7 separate regions of the Homo sapiens genome follow, and all the other regions are linked to region 6. The links are contacts of gene promoters, found by promoter capture Hi-C in blood cells and fetal thymus (Javierre and others, 2016). All regions are on one chromosome and are shown on one strand. Each heading gives the region's core, a stretch centred on a gene start or on the middle of the fragment in contact. The rest is flanking DNA. Distances are from core to core; before and after follow the strand shown.

Region 1 (2,700 bases), core at 195-2,694, 170 kb before region 6:
GATCTCTAGGAAGGAGAAGTTGGCTAGGAGCACGTACATAGGGGTATGGAGTCGATGGTCCCACCTCACTGCACAGATGATGGCCATATTCCCAGTCAGAGTGAAGATGTAGACCAACAAAATCATTGAGAAAAAGATGATCTGAATTTTCCAGGGACCAGGAAACCCCAACAACACAAACTGCGTCACAGTAGATATCTGTGAGTTATTCATGCTTCCCAGACTGTGGAGAGAACACCGATGGTCAATGACAATTTGCTTTGCTGATGAAGCATCTTGAAGCTTTTTTTGGGATAAGGAGTTTGACTCTTGCAGGTGAATATATTGGATATTCTAAAAGAATTCTTAAGCACACCTGGTTTATCTTTCTCAAATGAGTCCTGTGGGTCTGATTCTTGTAAACTTCAGGTTGTTTGAATTTTCTGTGGCAATGGACAAAAATCAACATTTCATCTTCTTTTGATATAAAGAAATTCTTGAAATAGAGGCAAAAATGGTTTGTTTTATATCTAATTTGTTTTTCAGTGAAAGATGTTCATATATAGCAATTACTTATTGCTGTTCACTTCAAATTATGAAGACATATGCCATCATTTTTAATATATTCAAGTCTGAGACTTTTTACAGCTTTGAGTAGTTTGTACTTTTGACATTATTTCAGATTCTTTCTTTCCGGAGCTATTTCTGTTAAGAGTATTTATTTTCTTCCAATTTTTTTAGTGATACCAGGAGAAAGTCAACAAGGATATTTAGATAATAAAATTCTTTATATATTTTGCTTTTTCCTATTTAGAGACATTTATATTGTACTACAGCTTATTTACAATTTGGTATTTAATCATTTGCTTTTAGCAATAAAATGTCATAATTATTCATTTCCTGGTGATTAATTTCACATTATAATTTATCATGCTCCATATACCTTTAAAAAGAAATATTTCATTAAAGATAACATATAAGATAGCGAAGATAACTACAGTTACTGGGATATTTTCTTCTAAAGCTCCTCTTATTACTTTTGCCAGAATTTTCTCTAAAATTCACTGTTTGTAAGATCTTTCTTTAGTCCATGTAAAATAATAGCCTCCAAATATTCAAAAAAACAAGATACAAGAGAATCAAAGGTGTTATTTCAAACATAATTATTTACCCATTTTCCGAGAGTTGGTTTGTTTCCTTTAGAACACCATCACCAAAGAAGATATATTTTCAAGAATCAAATACAACTCCAAGAAAAGAGTAAATGATAGCTTTAACATATGGGACTCTTCAGAAAAATTTTAACAAGATACCTTTAACTTTTTTGATTGTTAAGAGGATAATTTGCCTTATATTTTTTTCAATTAAAGTAGCACATATATAGTATTTGATCAAGGTGGTATATACATATATGTACACACACACATATATACATAGTGTGTTTGTCTGTATGCATATATATTTACAGTACTCACTGAACATAATCAAATAGAAAAAACCCTCCTATTCAGTGAGGTTATATTAAATAAGAAATATATTTATGATCATGCAGCTGTTGCAGTTAGTAATGCACAAGGTGAACTATGAATCTACCCATCTAGAAGGAAACATAGACCTTTTCATAGAGCTGGTTTTGCAAAAGGTTGTGGTTTGGTGGACAAGAAGCCAAAAAGAGAAAGAAACTGCAAGATGGGGATCAGTGATTTTTAATTTTTTAAACTAGGATGATTATGAAGAACTAAACTAAACCTGCATCGATGGTCATTTTTGTAAGATATCATAAAAGAATGGCTCCCCACTATGGGTCCTCTATACATTCTCCTTTCCGAGCAAGAAACCTCTCTCCTCAACAAGATGAGAAAGCAGTGATGCAGGGAGCAGCCACTTATGCTTGGAACAGAGAAGGAGCAACAATGTTTTTGAACTCAGATTCACAGACTTTGACCCAAAATCAAAATGCACAAGACCGAGCTGCTTCTTTGAGCTTAGACTACTTTCATTGACATTAAAAACAACAAACAAACAAAAACCTTGCAGAAAAACAATTAGCCACAGGGAAAGCATGGTAAATAAATTTCACAGATAATTTCCAACATATTTGTAAGAAACAGTTCCTAATATATTCACCACTAAATCTATGTGAGTTCTTAGTCCACAAAAACATTGATTTTATTTTTATCTTTTCTTTTTTTTTAAATGTCACTTCTCCTGAAGGTGCAAAGTGAGTAATGAAAGGGACAGAGAGAGGAAAACAGAGAGAAGATTAAAAAAAATTCCAATTTTCTTTTGGTTTTAGTCCCAGTGGATAAAGCTAGTTCCATACTGTTAAGCTCAAAATCTCTACAAACGTCATAGCATTCCTGGTGCCTCAGGCACTTCCTGAGAAGGAGAAGACCTGTGGATGATTAGTGTACTTCTTTTGGAAAGTGTGAATTGCATGGTGATCTCAACACTCTGAGGGATTTTTTTTCTTTTGGTTTTTGAGCTGAAAGATAGACCAATATTCTTTGATACTCAATCTCTGAAGCATGTTGAATGAAGAAATGTATAGGTGAGTAGTCCATCTGTCGTGTATAACAGCAGCAACGCTCAACGAAGAATACCTCTCCTACATACCAGGAAGCTTTCCTAGGTCATCCCTGAGAAAGCCTGCAGGGAGGCCACACGGATTCTCTCCTTCACTGGCTCCAATATGGAAGTCCTGTGTCAGAGCTTCACCAG
Region 2 (2,700 bases), core at 23-2,522, 200 kb before region 6:
CCTCCTTGTACCTCTGGTAGAATTTGGCTGTGAATCCATCTGGTCCTGGACTCTTTTTGGTTGTTAAACTATTAATTATTGCCACAATTTCAGCTCCTTTTATTGGTCTATTCAGAGATTCGACTTCTTCCTGGTTTAGTCTTGGGAGAGTGTATGTGTCGAGGAATTTATCCATTTCTTCTAGATTTTCTAGTTTATTTGCGTAGAAGTGTTTGTAGTAATCTCTGATGGTAGTTTGTATTTCTGTGGGATCGGTGGTGATATCCCCTTTATCATTTTTTATGGCATCTATTTGTTTCTTCTAGAGATGGGGTTTCACGCCATGTTGCCCCAGGCTGGTCTTGAACTCTTGACCTCAAGTGATTCACCTTCCTCAGCTGCCCAAAGTGCTGGAATTACAGGCGTGAGCCACTGCACCCGGCCTAGGTTATATATATTCTTATACACTGCTGTATTCATTTAACTAGGTTTATGTGTGTGTGGGTGACAAGTGATTTTAGTTTAGTTTTTATTGCTTAGTGTATTCTAGTTTGGTTTTGGTATCAAATGTAAGCTTGCCTCATACAATGAGTAAAGAGTGTTTCCTCTGTGTGATTATTTGAAGAGTTTATATGAAATTGTCTTCTCTTTTTTTTTGGTAGAATTTACCTGTAAAGTCATCAGTACTGCACATTTTGTTAATAGAAAGGTTAACTACTGATTTAAATTCTTTGATGTTTATTGGTTTGAATCATTCAATTTTTCTCTTGAGTCAGTTTTAATATTTTGTATTTTTATAGTAATTTATCCATTTCATTTACATTTTCAAATTTTCTCCTCTAAACTATTAGTAATACATGACCATAACATCCTCTCATTTTTCTTTTTGTGGGAGCCTGTCTCTCCATCAAGCCAAGAATCTCCTTTAATGATATCTAGGACAGGTTGTTCCTCCTCGTCTGTCAGTGACCCATCAGCCTGTTGAGTACTGGGGAAGCACAGTGCCTGTTACTGGCAAGTTTACTGCCTTCATTCTTTCTAATCTTGATCTTTTATGCTGAAGTGTTAGTTTATCTATTCTCAGAAGACATTTGGACAAAAATGCTATTTTTAATTTCAAATGAAAATTATGTTGTTAGAATTAGTCTCTGTATAAATCAGAGTCACATTTTAAATTTTCCTAGGACTTGGTTGGTTTTCTCAGCACACTCTCAGCTCCTGGCAGGTTTGCATAGAGCAGGCAACAATGGGAAAGTGCTCACAGAAAATTTTGCATCTATAAGTGGATAGGGAGGTGATGGAATAGGGCATATGTGGGAAGATACAGGAAAAGGAAAACTGTTCTTACTCCTTACCCGCCCCCCCCATAGGAGATGGTGCTGTACAGCGGGAAAGAGAATTGGATTATAGTTTTCTGCTCCCTAATTGTAACTTTCTTTTTCATTTATTTCAGGAAGTTATATATACAATGGTGTAAAATTGAAAAGTTATTAAAAACTATACAGAGAAAAAACTTCATTTTCACGCCTGACCTCTACTTCCCTTACTGGAGTAACGACTCCATTTTATTGTTTTCTTCCGGAGATATTCTATCTATATAAGCATAGTGGTATATTGCTTAAAAATACACAAATAACACTGCCTGTGTGATTTTAGGAAAATCTCTTGAACTTCATTATTAACTTCTTTAAATTCCTAGATGAAAATACTTACACAAACCTGGAAAAACTCAGTGATTTTGTAGAAATCAATCAAGTAGTGTTTGTGAACATGTTTGGAAAATCATCAGTTATTTTATAAGTTTGAGATGGAGGGAGGGTAGTCATGAAAGTTTTACTTTTCTACACAAAAGACAATGAGTCACATGGGATCTGACTTGACAAGAGTGATTCTGAATTGGCAGCCTGGCTGTGTGTCAGCAGCCCCCTGGCTAATTCCTCTCATAGTGTGTTGGGGTTTTCTTCATGGCTAATGAGGAGATCTATTCGCTTGAGATAGGAAGTGGAAGCTTGCCAGAGTGTGAGACACCTCACTTTCCTCCCTCCCTCCTTCCCTTTGCCCTTCCTCACGTTTAGGGAGTTAGTATTGGAACTTTGGCTGATGCAACAGTTTGAGTCACTGTCTCTCTGTGCTGTGGGATCCACTCACTTTTAATGGGGAGTTGATGGAATCACTCCTCCCTCCCCCACCCTGACTTCCTCCTCTAATTGGCTCTCAGGGGACTCCAACTCCTGCTAATCAACCATGGCAGAGCTGCTGCAGAGAGCCCGAAACTGGCACTCAGGGACCTAGGTTCTGTTGTGACTCTGCTCCTTCAACTTTCTTTTCTAATCTGTTAAAACAACTTTGCCTTTGGATTAGGCCTGGGAGAATGGGGTTCCTTTGGGCATTGCCTTTGCAGAGACAGTTTTAATAATGCCAGCATCTTCTAGACTTTGCCAACTATTGTGTTCAGCTTGAATCTTTTTATTCATGGTGGCAGAGAGGGGAAAAGATTAGGTATCTGTTTCATGTGTCCACAGTGGGGGAGGCAAATGATAGGAGAAAAGAGAAGATGAAAGAGCATATCATTTGAGGAATGTGAGCCTCAACATATTGGTCCACATACTGCTTCTCTATTAGCAAAAGGCCTTGTGGAAAACTTACCTTGTCTGCTTCTGTTTGTCACTGCCCAGAGGAAAGTAAACCTAGTTGTGCAGCTTTGGCCAATATTATTATTGG
Region 3 (2,703 bases), core at 100-2,599, 230 kb before region 6:
CTTTTTCTGCCTAACTTTTAAATCTTAGGTTCCCAGGACTCTATTTTTGTTTTTTTCCTTTTTTCTCTTTATATCAGGATGGCCTATAGTTGCCAACTTTGATCACTTGTCAGTGGTTGCCTGACATACTGTGTAGAAGGATTCTGAGGCTTTGACTGGATTCATCAGGAGAGTGCTTTGCTTGATTGCAATATTTCCTGTGAATTCAGGCATGTCACGTGATGGCATGAGTGTGATTCTTCTCCATCCTGTCTATAGATCATCTTGCCCTGTGATGTCATATAAACCCAAGGCTTTGGCAGCCTCCTATATGCTTACAGATATATCTCCAGCCCAAGCTTCATTTCCAAGTGTTGGATTCCTATAACCATCTGCTTCTGGGTTCCAATAAGAAATCTCTAACTCAGTATTTCAGTATTACTCACCTAAATCTTTCTCTGTAAACCTGCTTCTCCTCCCTGGATTCCTTGTGAATGAATGGTATCACCTCTCAGTCACTTGATTAAGACTTTTGGAAGAATAGGCTTCTCCATTCTCCAAAAAGATTTGCCTTTTTTGTCCTATAGACTTGACTTCTCTGTGTTTACCACCTTAATTCACCCCCTTATCACTTCTCCAGATAGGTCTCCCTGATTCTCTGGTTTCCTCCAGTGTTCCACAGTGCTGCCAGAGAAATGTTTCTTAGATGGAAATCTGACCATTGCTACTTCTTATTTAAGATCCCTTACTGGTACTATATGTAGCTTTTGGGATAAAGTGTGAACTACTTAGGTTAGCATACAAAGTCCTTCATGATTTGCTCCCTGCTTCTCTTTCTATTATCTTTTGTCTCTTTCCCACCAGTGCCTTTTGTTTCAACCATGGAACAATTTTGTTGGTTTTAGAACAGCTGTTTTCATGCCTCTGTGTCTTACATACAGTTACTCTGCCTGGATAATCTCTAGCTTCTTCTTGACATAGCTAACATCCTCTTCTGCCCCCAACATTTTGTATAAAAATTTTCAAACATATAGCTAAGTTGAAAGAGTTTTACATTGAACATTTGTGTTCTCATCCACTTATATTCTACCATTAATATTTTATTTTACTTAGCTTATTACATATCAGTCTGTTTATCCTGCTATCAGAGTAAATTGCAGAGATCAATATACTTTACATACTTTAGCATGCAGTCATTAACTGAGTTCAGTATTTGTTTCAATTTTTTCTTTTTATGTAAAATTTACATACAATGAAATGTACAATTTTAAGCGTACATTTCATAGCTTTTAACAAATGGAAAATATCTGTATAACCCAAATAGAGATCATTACCACCATTCTGGGAAGTTCCCTGATGTTGCCTCCAAGTCAAAATCTCTGTTCCTATCCCCTCAGAGGTTTTTAACATTTTTACCGAGGATTAATTTTTCTCTTTTAACCCAGCTGGTTTTTTACCCTTTAAGATTCACTTTGAGCGTCACCTCTTCCAGGAAATCTTCCCTGCTTTCCAATTTTGATTTAGATATTTGTCCTCTGGGCTCCCACAGCCCAATCTGTGGCTTCATTGAATTCAGCACAAGGGAAAAGCTATTCTAGCACCCATCACACTGTGCTGTAAGTGATGACTTCATTGTCTGACTCCTGCTAGACTATAGGTCATTCATAGCTGGATTGGTATCTTATTGCTAAACACAATGCTTGGCACATATGTAATATTCAGTGAAAGTTTGTGGAGTTAAACTACACAGACAGTGATGGTTAGAGGCTTTGGTTAAGAGTATGATAGTTAAATTGATAGACCAGGAATAATGTTACAACTGTAACATGTTGGTCTAGTTCATCATTAATATTTGTTGAATGGCTTCAGTGTGCTTTGTCCTAAGTTCTTAGCAAAGTGACTGATGAGTTTCAGAAAAATGAAGACTCAGATATATAAAGTGGAAGATGGTACCTCTCATAGGTTTTCTGAGTAACTGAGAAAAAGCATTTGTTTATTTTGTTAGTATTTTATTTTTAAAGTTTAATTAAGTTAAATTTTATATTTTATTTTAATTACCTGTCACTGACTTTAAGTCCAGTATTTTGCTAGTATTTTTAAACCACTGTTTCTGCTCTTCTTTCCTACCCACATACCTTTTTGTTTTCCTCTCTCCTAATCTGTCTTTACTTGGTAGTACATTTGGCCTGGTAGATTCAGATGGACCTTGCTATGCAGTGATGGTGTACAATATAGTGCAGAGCTGGGGAGTGCTCATTGGAGACTCTGTAGCCATTCCTGAGCCCAACCTGCGGCTTCACCGAATTCAGCACAAAGGAAAGGTGAGCAATGGCTAGGATTCTCTTACAACTCGTAGGCTCTAAAAGTAGAACCAAGCTTATCTTTTTATAAAAGATATAGAAATAATTATATGTAAGTATGTGTGTAGGCTATGTGTATATATATTTGTGTGTATATGTTTTATTTATATATATATATGTATTTTTTTACTAAAAAGGTAAACTGGTAAGCAGAAAAATAAAAAAATGCAGTGAAATATTATCACTCAGGTATTACTGCCTTTTAACTGTTACTGTTAACAGTTTGGTGTATATACCTGAAGTCTTTTCTTTTCACAAATATATACACATATATCTATATTTTAAATCATGAGTGGGATATTATATGCAAATGTTTGTGAATGTTTCCTATGTTTTTACATATTTCACCACATTGAGTAGACAC
Region 4 (2,700 bases), core at 44-2,543, 190 kb after region 6:
ACATGAGCAGAAGTTTTAAAAGTCAATGCGTGACTCCAGCACTGTTTATATATTTTATTTTTTAACTCATCAGGGTCTTAGGATAAATAGAATAAATACAAAGAAACATTGAGAGATAGACACACATGTGCGCGCGCGCGCGCGCGCACACACACACACACACACACACACACACACACGGGAGGAATACAGAATGATGAGATATTATATGTAAATATGGAGTACCAGCCAGACCCTAGCCATCTGATACACTCCAGGTGAGGCACAAGATATGTTAGGAAATCCGTTCTGAAAGTTCCAGTACCAGCGGAGCTCCCAGGTAAATAATGCAAGTGCATGAGTCTTTCCTACAGACCGGAGAGTGGCACCTTACATCTTTCTATTGTCAAAGTGGTTAAGCTGAGAACTACAGTTCCCAGAATTCTTTTCTACACGTCTTTCCGTATTGGAGTTGTCTAAAAATAAATGTGTTTGGAATTTGAAAAGCAGCCCAAAGCACCAGCCATTACTCTCTGATCTTTGTGGCTATACAGATGCAGAGGTGCCAACAGCTTCTAGCTTGTTTTGTTCTCAGCCACTTCACTCTGCGTCCACCTTTTTCCCAACTTCTGAATTGGAGGATCAACAGAAGCCTCAGGCTGCCTGCCTGCAGATCCTCAGAAGCAGCAACTGAACAAAAATTTTTCTACCAGCAAAATTTTCTAAATTTTGCTCCTTTCATGACCTCTACTTCATTGGCTAGATGGGCTTGGTTTCTCGATTGACTGGCTATTGCTGCCTCTGATTCTGCAGCTCCCTGTTTCATGTCTTTGCTTTCCTAAGTCCTTCCAGAATTGTTTAAGGTCTAATTCCTATGGTAAATGCCTTATCCTACAGTGCATGGTAGCTCTGCTTTCTAAGTTGAACTCTATTTCTTAACCTAAGTCAAAACTAACAATGTAGATAAAATCAGAGATGTTTTGATTTTATCCCTGACATTCCAACATGTCAATCCTATTGTCCCCTATCATCTCCCTCTCCTTAGAGGTAAATATATATATATATATATATATATAAATAGGTATATATATGTGTATATATATAAAAATAGGTATATATATGTGTATATATATATAAATAGGTATATATATGTGTATATATATATAAATAGGTATATATATGTGTATATATATATAAATAGGTATATATATGTGTATATATATATAAATAGGTATATATATGTGTATATATATATATAAATAGGTATATATATGTGTATATATATATAAATAGGTATATATATGTGTATATATATATATAAATAGGTATATATATGTGTATATATATATAAATAGGTATATATATGTGTATATATATATAAATAGGTATATATATGTGTATATATATATAAATAGGTATATATATGTGTATATATATATAAATAGGTATATATATGTGTATATATATATAAATAGGTATATATATGTATATATATATAAATAGGTATATATATGTGTATATATATAGATAGGTATATATATGTGTATTTATATATATATACACACACACACACACACATATATATACCTATTTAAATATATATGTGTATATTTAATATATTTAAATGTTCCTCCATGGGATTTTATTATTTTATATTCCTTCTGGCATTACCTCACTGTAGTGTCATCTAGAGCAGGTGTTCAAGCTGCTAGAATTTTGCTGCCTGATAGAAACATTTACCATATGATAGTTGATATGTGGTATCTCAATGAATTTCAACATATGTTCATATAAAAAAGAGTTTGAGCATCTTTTCTATAGAAAATAGCTATTTGCGCTTTTTTCCCATTTTATGCAGGGTTCTTGGTCTTTTTATTGTCTAATTTAATAGCTTTTTATGTACTGATATACCAGTGCTTTGTTTTTTTATCTCTCAGTGCAAATGAGGAGATTGAGATTTATGATAATGTGGTGATGTACTCAGTATAATATAATAAAGTCTTGTACTGTGATGTAAACTCAGGCCTCCAAATCTGAGATTCAATGTTCTTTATATTACACTAGAGGCATATAATGCAGTTTCATCAAGTTATTTCTTTTCATCTTATGAATACAAGCTCTGTGAAATATAGTCAAAACTTTCTTGTTAATAGAGAAATATTTAAGTATGGGTGGCATTTAAATTTTATTGATTGTTATTCTGATTTTTAGCAGATATTAAAATTTTGATGATTACTTCACATTCTTTACATAGTTAGAATTTATAAACCAGAATTTTTTCACTTTTCACTTTTTTCTTCCATTACTCCATAATGATTCAAGTGAATAGTACAAAATTTAAATTCTCGAACATTCATTTTATTATTTTCTGTATCAGTTTTTTTCCAAATGGGGATACACAGGCCTTATACTCATTTGTTAATGGAGGAACTGGGAGATAACACTTGTAGTCTCATAAGTCAAATAATAGATACTATTTGTCTTGTCTTTGCTGTGGTCCAAGATACGCGTTATTCTTTATATTTTCCCAGCCAATCACATCCATGTCCTGTACATGAAACATTTACGAGCAATCATGCATTCTGTAATTCACCTTTAAATATGGCCAAACCAACTAGAAAGTTTTAATAACTCCCACTGCAACTTGAACATTTGTTTATTCCCCAAGCAGCAGCTGGTCTTTTTCTTGCCATGTAATTCACAAAATTATTTCATATCAAT
Region 5 (2,700 bases), core at 115-2,614, 160 kb after region 6:
TAAGGTCACAATAATAACTGTCCACTATGTTTGGGCCACAGAAGGGCAAACTTACAGTGAAAGCTAACTGGCTCAGGGAGTGCATAACTCCAGTGACCCAAGATCCTACCACTAGGCCTGTACATGTGCACAAGTTCATGATGGTTGCATAATGGAGAGGTTTGCATATGGCTACATATATGTCATATGCCATGGCTACAAGGAGCACCATCTCACCACCAGCAAAGACATGGAACAAGAATATCTGGGCCATGCAGCCCTCAAAGGAGATAGTCTTGGGTTCATGAAGGAAATCATGGATAATCTTAATCCATATTGTCTCTGAAGTTACGTTAATGGTTTGGGTTTGAGGTAAATTCCCTTGCAGTTAACATTTTACTATATGAGAATATGTAAACTGAAATGGTACACATGTCAGTACAGAATATTAGTAGATAAGGTGATGATAGCCGTAAAATGAAGATTTGAAAAATGCCAGAAATCCTCATAGAGAATGGCACCATATCCTCTACTGAATGCCACTTTTGTCTAGATGTCAGAGTGGGCTGGTTTGAACTGAGATGAGTATAGAATGATGTTAATATGCTTCTGTAGAGTCTTTTCTATTCAATATTTCAGAAAAAGACCCATAGAACCAAAAAAACCCTCAAATATTACAGAAATTGATCTTTAAGTCATTTTCTATCATACCCAAATTCAAATTTTATGCTCTGGACTAAAATTGATATAATTATTTTGTGGTTGAGTCAAAGGACTTTGCACAAAACTGTAAGTCCAAGAATCATAAGCCATTGCTCCAAGTTTCATTCTCTAGTTAAAGGTCTTACTTCCATTTTCCAAAAAAAAAATCTCAAGCAATTGGATCAAGCAAGTTGTCGACATAAATTTTTTTTTAAAAAAAGACTTACCTGATTCAATTATCTACAGATTTTGAGAAAGTTCAAACAAGTTTTGGCTTCTTTCAGATCAAATGTTCTTGAAGGGGACCTGCACCAAATGTGCACATACTTTAGAGTTAAGGTGTTATAACTATCATAAATATTGACTTAGGTAAACCTCCTCTTCTTGACACTCTATTTCACCCTTTTCCCATTTTATCATTTATCTATTTCATTTAGGACTTGGGATTGAACAGGAACCACGGGAGTATGAATGTGTCCCATGATGATTCCTTGCCATTAAATATTTGCTGGCTTGTTGAATAGGGAAAAGGGTTCAAGTCCAGACAGCCAAACCACTTTCAACTTTCTTTCAACTCCAGAGCTCTTTCCCTTGTCTTACTTATAACCAATTACACGCACTATGTTTCTAATAGATTTAGGAAGAGTTTTACATGGAGAGATTTCTGCGACACTATACGAAGAATTGAATTGAACTGAATCTTCAGTGATATTCCACACATCAGTGAGAAGAAACTCAGCAAAGAACAGCTGATGCACTGCAATACGAATGTTAAATGAATTCCTGTTTTAATTTTAAATGTTAAAAATTATTGATAGGATATCCCATAGAAACATATTTGTATTCTTAGCATACACTCCACTTAATTATGGTGTGTTATATGAGAATATTATAACTTTGGTTTGATGTGCTAATTATTTATTTAGGATTTTTCGTATAGGTTTACAATTATAGTAGTTTTAACTTGTTGGGCTATCCACTTCCTATTTTGGTAGTAAGACAATGATAGGCTCACAAAATTAGTGGGGTTGCTCAGAAAAGTGTTTCTATATCCTAGCATTATCTGTACTTTGATGGTTTGGGAAAGATTGTACATAAACATGAATGTAGCTTGCGAGTTTTTTTTAATTATTATTATTATACTTTAAGTTCTAGGGTACATGTGCACAACGTGCAAGTTTGTTACATATGTATACATGTGCCATGTTGGTGTGCTGCACCCATTAACTCATCATTTACATTAGGTATATCTCCTAATGCTATCCCTCCCCCCTCCCCCCACCTCACAACAGGCCTCCGTGTGTGATGTTCCCCTTCCTGTGTCCAAGTGTTCTCGTTCAATTCCCACCTATGAGTGGGAACATGTGATGTTTGGTTTTTTGTCCTTGCAATAGTTTGCTGAGAATAATGGTTTCCAGCTTCATCCATGTCCCTACAAAGGACATGAACTCATCCTTTATTATGGCTGCATAGTATTCCATGGTGTATATGTGCCACATTTTCTTAATCCAGTCTATCATTGATGGACATTTGGGTTGGTTCCAAGTCTTTGAGAGCTTGTGAGTTTTATAGGATGATACTTTTAGCTTCTTTTAATGTAATCCATGATGATTACAGCTTGAATTTTCTCCTCCTTAGAAAATTTGACAATGTATGATTTCTGAAAAAATTAAAAATTCATGTCAATGAATGTTGTCTTATGCTTTTACATTATTTAAGTTGTTTAGCTTCCTAAACATATAAATTTATGAACACTTTTCTGATCTATAATAATTAATTGTACAGTCTCTTTTTAACTTTAATTTTCATCAGTACTGATCTTTTCTTTTTTCTTATTCTTCTGTTATTTTTGCTTTTCCAAGAGCCATATTTTTGATTTCACAAGGAGCTGCACTAGATTATTTGTGTTTTTTTATTTCAAGAACTTATTTTTTAATTGACAAATAAAAATTCTATATATTTTTATTGTACAACATGATGTTTTGATATTTGTGTACAATGCATAATGGCTAAATCAAG
Region 6 (2,700 bases), core at 168-2,667:
GTCACTGTGCTGTTGAATTTGTGGACTCATTCTTACTTTTTGCCTCCATTGATTCAAGAAACTAGAATTGCTTTTTCTGTTAACATTATTTAATTCATGACTTGTTCATGATACCTCATTTAATAATAGTATAAATTTATGAATAACATTATCAATATATATTAAAATAACCTCTAATAATATTCATATCTTCATGTATTCATTTACAGTTGTTTCTTTATTAATGAATATATTGAATGTATATGATAAAAATCCTCAATAATCTTTTTATGTTTATTTATGTCTATTTTTATGTCTATTTTGCTGCAGATCTCTATCCTTATGTTTATAAAAGTCTTAAATGTAAAATTTAAAGTAATTTAGTATTGTCTTTATGCGTTATTATTATAACATAAGAAAAGTGAAATGATGCATTATACATAATCTATTCAAACTATCTTATCGTAGCATTTAAAAGTTAATTATATAGTGCTAACATCTAGAAATTCTGTGCAGAACTAACATATTGGAACCGTAATTTTCTTATGGCCTCTTGCATTTTCTTATTTCTCAGGGTATAAATACTCGGATTCAGTAAGGGTGTGATAACTGTATAAAATACGGCAAGAGTTTTATTGCTTGCCAAACTACTGAATGGCCAAACATAGATAAAAATACAAGGTCCAAAGAACAGAGTGACCACAATGATGTGGGCAGACAATGTGGACAGCGCCTTGGAGAGCCCATGTGATGATTTTTTTGGTACACTGACCAGGATGACAATGTAAGAAACAAGCAAGAGGATGAAACAGGTGAAAGAGAGCAGCCCGCTGTCAGCAATGACAAATAATTCCAGGGTGTATGTTTCAATGCAAGCAAGCTTGATCACAAGGGGAAGATCACAAAATATGTTGTTTATGACATTGTGGCCACAGAAAGGCAAGTTCATTGTTAAAACTATCTGGCTTATGGAGTGTAAAAAACCAATTATCCATGAAAGTATCGCAAACCCCTTTAGCAGCTTGTGGCTCATGATTGTCCTATAGTGCAGGGGTTTACATATGGCTACATACCTGTCAAAGGCCATGATTATCAGAAGAGTCATCTCAGCACCCCCAAAGAAGTGCATGAAGAACATCTGGGTCACGCAGCCCCACACAGAGATGGTCTTGTGGTCAGTGAGCAAATCTATGATCATCTTGGGTGTTGTGGCAGTGGAGAGACACATGTCCAAAAAAGAGAGATTTCCAAGGAGAAAGTACAAGGGAGAATGAAGGGTTGACCTACATGTCACTGTGACCATAATGAGAATGTTTCCCATCACAGTAGCACCGTAGATCAGGGAAAATGTCACAAAGAAGAAAATTTGAAGTTCCCATCGTCCAAAAAATCCTAGTAAAATAAACTCGGTCACTAGAGATCCATTTTTAAGATCCATTTACTCAACTCAGAAAGGTTCCAGAAGTTCTTTATATACAAAGAGAATTAAAAAATAAGTCACAGTTAACACCAATATTTTCTTATTTCTATTAGTTGGTGATAATAGTTGATGATATGAGATCATATAATTTTAAATATATCAACACAGAGATTAGCTTAAATATTATATCACTTTGAAACAATTACTCTGCAGTAATTACAAATCATTTGAAGAAGTAGAAGTTCCATTTTCTATTGTTTATTCCATAAAATCATACTCTTATCAATGGATCTTGACTTTCTTACTCATTTGTTCACATATAAAGATTAGATACTAATTAATTACTTTTTATTTTGCCTTTTATTATTATAGTATTCTGTACCTGCACTTCTTGAGATTATGTTATCCCAATATATAAGGAATACAAGATTTAGAAAATGAAGAATTACATTGTTCTACATCTCTGAAGTAATTTATGAAGGTTTTTCTATGGTTCTAAACTAAATAAGCAAACAAACAAACAAAAAGCACACACACACACACACACAAATCAGGAGCAAATTATACATGGATGAAAGTATATAAATTTATTTAAAATAATTTTTCTTTTTAATATACATGTATACCTCTTTTATTGTGTTTCACTTTATTGTCCTTTGCAGTTATTTAATGTTTTATAAACTGAGGGTTTGTGACAACCCTGGATCCAGCAAGTCTATTGGCACCATTTTTCCAACAGCATGTGCTCACTTTATGTCTCTGTGTCACATTTTGGTAATTCCCAAAATATTTATTTCAAACTTTATTATTATTATTACACGTTATTTGATCTGTGACCAGTAATCTTTTATGTTACTATTTTCATTATTTTTGGGCACCACAAGCCGTGCCCATGTAGAATGGCAGACAATTGATAAATGTTGTTTCTAACGGCTCCACCAACCTACTCTTCCCTCATCTCTCTCCTTCTCTTCAGGCCTCTCTATTCTTTGAGATACAACAATATTGGATTTAGGCCAATTAATAGCTTTGCAATAGCCTCTAAGTGTTCAAGTAAAAGGAAAAGTTGCATGTCTTTTATTTGAAATAAACTAAGAAAAAACTGGAGACAGTTAAACGTTCAGTGGTTTCCAGGGGTTTGAATGAAGAAGGAGAAATGAAGAAATAAGAGAAGTACGGAGAATTTGCAGGGTATTGAAACAATTCTTATCTACTATACTTAGAAATACATAACACATTTGTCAAAACCCATAGCATGTATAACATCAAGAGTAAATCCTAATGTAAACTACAAATTTGGG
Region 7 (2,700 bases), core at 51-2,550, 170 kb after region 6:
TTAGCAGATGCCAGCATCATGCTGTCTGTACAGCTTGCAGAATCTTGAGACAATTAAACCTCTTTTCTTGATAAATTACACAGTATCAGATATTTCTTTATAGCAATGCAAGAATGAACTAATACCTCACCTCTACACATAAAAAAAGAAATTAGCTGGGCATGGTGGTTACGCCTATAGTTCTGGCTACTTGGGAGGCTGAGGTGGGAGGATTGTTTGAGCCCAGGAGGGTAAGGCTGCAATGAGCCATGATCATTCCACTACACTCCAGCCTGGGCAACAAAGCAAGACTCTGTCTCAAAAATAAAATAAAATAATAGTGGGGAGCTAGGTGCAGTGGCTCATGCCTGTAATCCCAGAACTTTAGGAAGCTGAGGTGGGTGGATCACTTGAGGCCAGGGGTTCAAGACCAGCCTGGCCAACATGGTGAAACCCCATCTCTACTAAGAATACAAAAAACTAGCCGAGCATGGTGGTGTGCACCTGTAATCCCAGCTACTCAGGAGGCTGAGGTACACAAATCACTTGAACCCAGGAGGCAAAGGTTGCAGTGAGCCAAGATCGCACCATTGCACTCCAGCCTGGGTGACAGAGGAAGACTCTGTCTCAAAATAATAATAATAATAAAATAATAATAATAATAGTGGGGGACTTTAATACCTCACTGAAATCACTAAATAGATCATTGAAGAAGAGAATCAACAAAGAAACTCTGGACTTAAACTGAAAAATATACCAAATGGACCTAATAGACATCTACAGAACATTTTACCCAACAACTGCAGAATATACATTTCTCTTATCTGCACAAAGACTACCCTTCAAAATCAAGCATATGCTCAGGCATAAGGCAAGTCTCAATACATTTTTAAAAACTGAGATTATATCCAGTACCTTCTGGACCACACTGGAATAAAATTAGAAATTAATACCAAAAATACTCTCAAAACTACACCAGTACATGGAAACTAAAAACTTGCTCCTGAACAACTTTTGGGTAAAAAACGAAATCAGGACAGAAATTGTAAAAATTCTTTAAAATAAATGAAATAGAAACACAACATACTAAAGTCTCTGGGATACAACAAAGGCAGTGCTAGAAGGAAAGTTTACAGTGTTAAATGCTTACATCAAAAAGATGGAAATATCTAAAGTTCACAATATAATGTTGCACCTGAAGGAACTAGAAAAAACAATAAAAAACCAAACCCAAAGTTAGTAGAATAAAATACATACCTGAAATCCAAGCAGAAATAAGTGAAATTGAGACAAAAAAACACAGTGTAATCAATGCAACAAAAAATTGTTTCTTTGAAAGAATAAACAAAATTGACAGACCACTAGCTAGACTAAGAAAAAAAGAGAAAATTCAAATAAGTACAATCAGAAATGATAAAAATGACATTACAACTGACACCAAAGAAATACAAAAAATAAGAGACTACTATGAACACCTCTATGCACACAAACTAGAAACCTAGAAGAAAGGAATTAATGCATATAAACATACACTCTTATTCAACATAGCACTGGCAGTCCTCTCCAGAGCTATCAGGGAAGAAAAAGAAATAAAGGCATTCAAATTGGAAAAGAGGAAGTTAAATTGTCTCTGTTTGCTGACAACATGATTGTATACTTAGAAAACCCTAAAGACTCCTCTAGAAGATTCCTAGACTTGATAAGCAACTTCAGAAGAGTCTCAGGATACAAAATCAATGTACAAAAACTAGTACCATTTCTATACACCAATAATCTTCAAGCTGAGAACCAAATTAATAACTCAATTACATTTACAATAGCCACACACAAAAATAAAATACCTAGAAATACACTTAATCAAGGTGGTGAAATATCTTTACAAGGAGAACTACAAAACACTGATGAAAGAAATTGAAGATGACCCACAAAAAATGGAAAAACTTTCCATGCTCATGAATTAGAAGAATAACTATCATTAAAATGACCTCATTATCCAACCAAAGCAATCTACATATTCAATGCAATTCCTATCAAACTACCAATGTCATTTTTCACAGATTTAGAAAAAAAAAGTCCTAAAGTTCATATGGACCCAAAAACAAAAACAAAAACAAAAACAAAAAATCCCAAAGAGCCAAAGCAATCCTAAGCAAAAAGTTCTAATTTGGAGGTATTACATTGTCTGACTTCAAATTATACTACGAGGATATAATAACTAAAGAAGCGTGGTACTGATACAAAGATAGACAATAGAACAGAATACAGAACCCAAAAACAAAGCCACGTACCTGTAACCAGCTGTTCTTTAGTAAAGTCAACAAAGACAAGCAATGGAGAAAGGACACTCTAATCAATAAATATTCAATAAATGGTGCTTGGAAAACTGGCTAGCCATATATGAAAGAACAAAACTAGACCCCTACCTCCCACCATATACAAAAATTACCCCAAGACGGATTAAAGACCTACATGTAAGACCTGAAACTATACAAATATTAGAAGAAAACCTAGAAAAACTCTTTTTAATATTGGCCTAAGCAAAGAGTTTGTGATGAAGACCCAAAAGCAATTGCAATAAAGACAAAAATAGGCAAATGGGACTTAAACAAACTAAAAAGCTTCTGCACAGCAAAAGAAATAATCAACAGAATAAACAGACAACCCACAGAATGGGAAAAATATATTTACAAATTATGCCTCTAACCAGAGATTTATATCTAG

What was found. The method cuts DNA at HindIII sites, captures the fragments that hold promoters and counts their contacts. A CHiCAGO score of 5 or more calls a contact.
Region 1: a contact is called between a fragment that was not itself captured here and the fragment with the promoter of OR4L1 in region 6, in 1 of 17 cell types (endothelial precursors). The highest score is 5.1, in endothelial precursors.
Region 2: a contact is called between a fragment that was not itself captured here and the fragment with the promoter of OR4L1 in region 6, in 4 of 17 cell types (M2 macrophages, M1 macrophages, erythroblasts and 1 more). The highest score is 9.6, in M2 macrophages.
Region 3: a fragment that was not itself captured here is called in contact with the fragment with the promoter of OR4L1 in region 6 in 4 of 17 cell types (M1 macrophages, M2 macrophages, M0 macrophages and 1 more); the score reaches 7.0 in M1 macrophages.
Region 4: a contact is called between a fragment that was not itself captured here and the fragment with the promoter of OR4L1 in region 6, in 8 of 17 cell types (naive CD4 T cells, total CD4 T cells, M2 macrophages and 5 more). The highest score is 9.0, in naive CD4 T cells.
Region 5: a fragment that was not itself captured here is called in contact with the fragment with the promoter of OR4L1 in region 6 in 9 of 17 cell types (naive CD4 T cells, total CD4 T cells, non-activated CD4 T cells and 6 more); the score reaches 8.5 in naive CD4 T cells.
Region 7: a contact is called between a fragment that was not itself captured here and the fragment with the promoter of OR4L1 in region 6, in 5 of 17 cell types (total CD4 T cells, naive CD8 T cells, non-activated CD4 T cells and 2 more). The highest score is 6.8, in total CD4 T cells.

What each region holds. Positions count from the first base shown.
Region 1 is chr14:20,226,915-20,229,614 of GRCh38, reverse strand. It overlaps the pseudogene OR11H7. Among named protein-coding and RNA genes, the nearest start is that of OR11H6, 4.6 kb to the right of the region's middle. The HindIII fragment of the contact is 2,320 bases long and covers 285-2,604 here.
Region 2 is chr14:20,262,226-20,264,925 of GRCh38, reverse strand. LOC124903279 (a long non-coding RNA gene) reads left to right here. Exons shown (of 2, transcript XR_007064057.1): 1 at 1-2,700. Among named protein-coding and RNA genes, the nearest start is that of OR11H4, 24 kb to the right of the region's middle. The HindIII fragment of the contact is 1,434 bases long and covers 556-1,989 here.
Region 3 is chr14:20,291,580-20,294,282 of GRCh38, reverse strand. It overlaps TTC5 (tetratricopeptide repeat domain 5), which reads left to right. Exons shown (of 10, transcript NM_138376.3): 9 at 2,156-2,300. Among named protein-coding and RNA genes, the nearest start is that of TTC5, 13 kb to the left of the region's middle. The HindIII fragment of the contact is 2,017 bases long and covers 341-2,357 here.
Region 4 is chr14:19,871,069-19,873,768 of GRCh38, reverse strand. No RefSeq gene overlaps it. Among named protein-coding and RNA genes, the nearest start is that of OR4K2, 2.7 kb to the left of the region's middle. The HindIII fragment of the contact is 5,805 bases long and covers 1-2,700 here.
Region 5 is chr14:19,903,524-19,906,223 of GRCh38, reverse strand. All of the region lies in intron 3 of LOC124903278 (a long non-coding RNA gene), which reads left to right. It also overlaps the pseudogene OR4K4P. Among named protein-coding and RNA genes, the nearest start is that of OR4K5, 16 kb to the left of the region's middle. The HindIII fragment of the contact is 5,016 bases long and covers 1-2,700 here.
Region 6 is chr14:20,058,762-20,061,461 of GRCh38, reverse strand. It overlaps OR4L1 (olfactory receptor family 4 subfamily L member 1), which reads right to left and starts at 1,417. Exons shown (of 1, transcript NM_001004717.1): 1 at 479-1,417. The coding sequence starts at 1,417. The coding sequence ends at 479. The HindIII fragment of the contact is 2,043 bases long and covers 862-2,700 here.
Region 7 is chr14:19,887,324-19,890,023 of GRCh38, reverse strand. No RefSeq gene overlaps it. Among named protein-coding and RNA genes, the nearest start is that of OR4K2, 14 kb to the right of the region's middle. The HindIII fragment of the contact is 2,598 bases long and covers 2-2,599 here.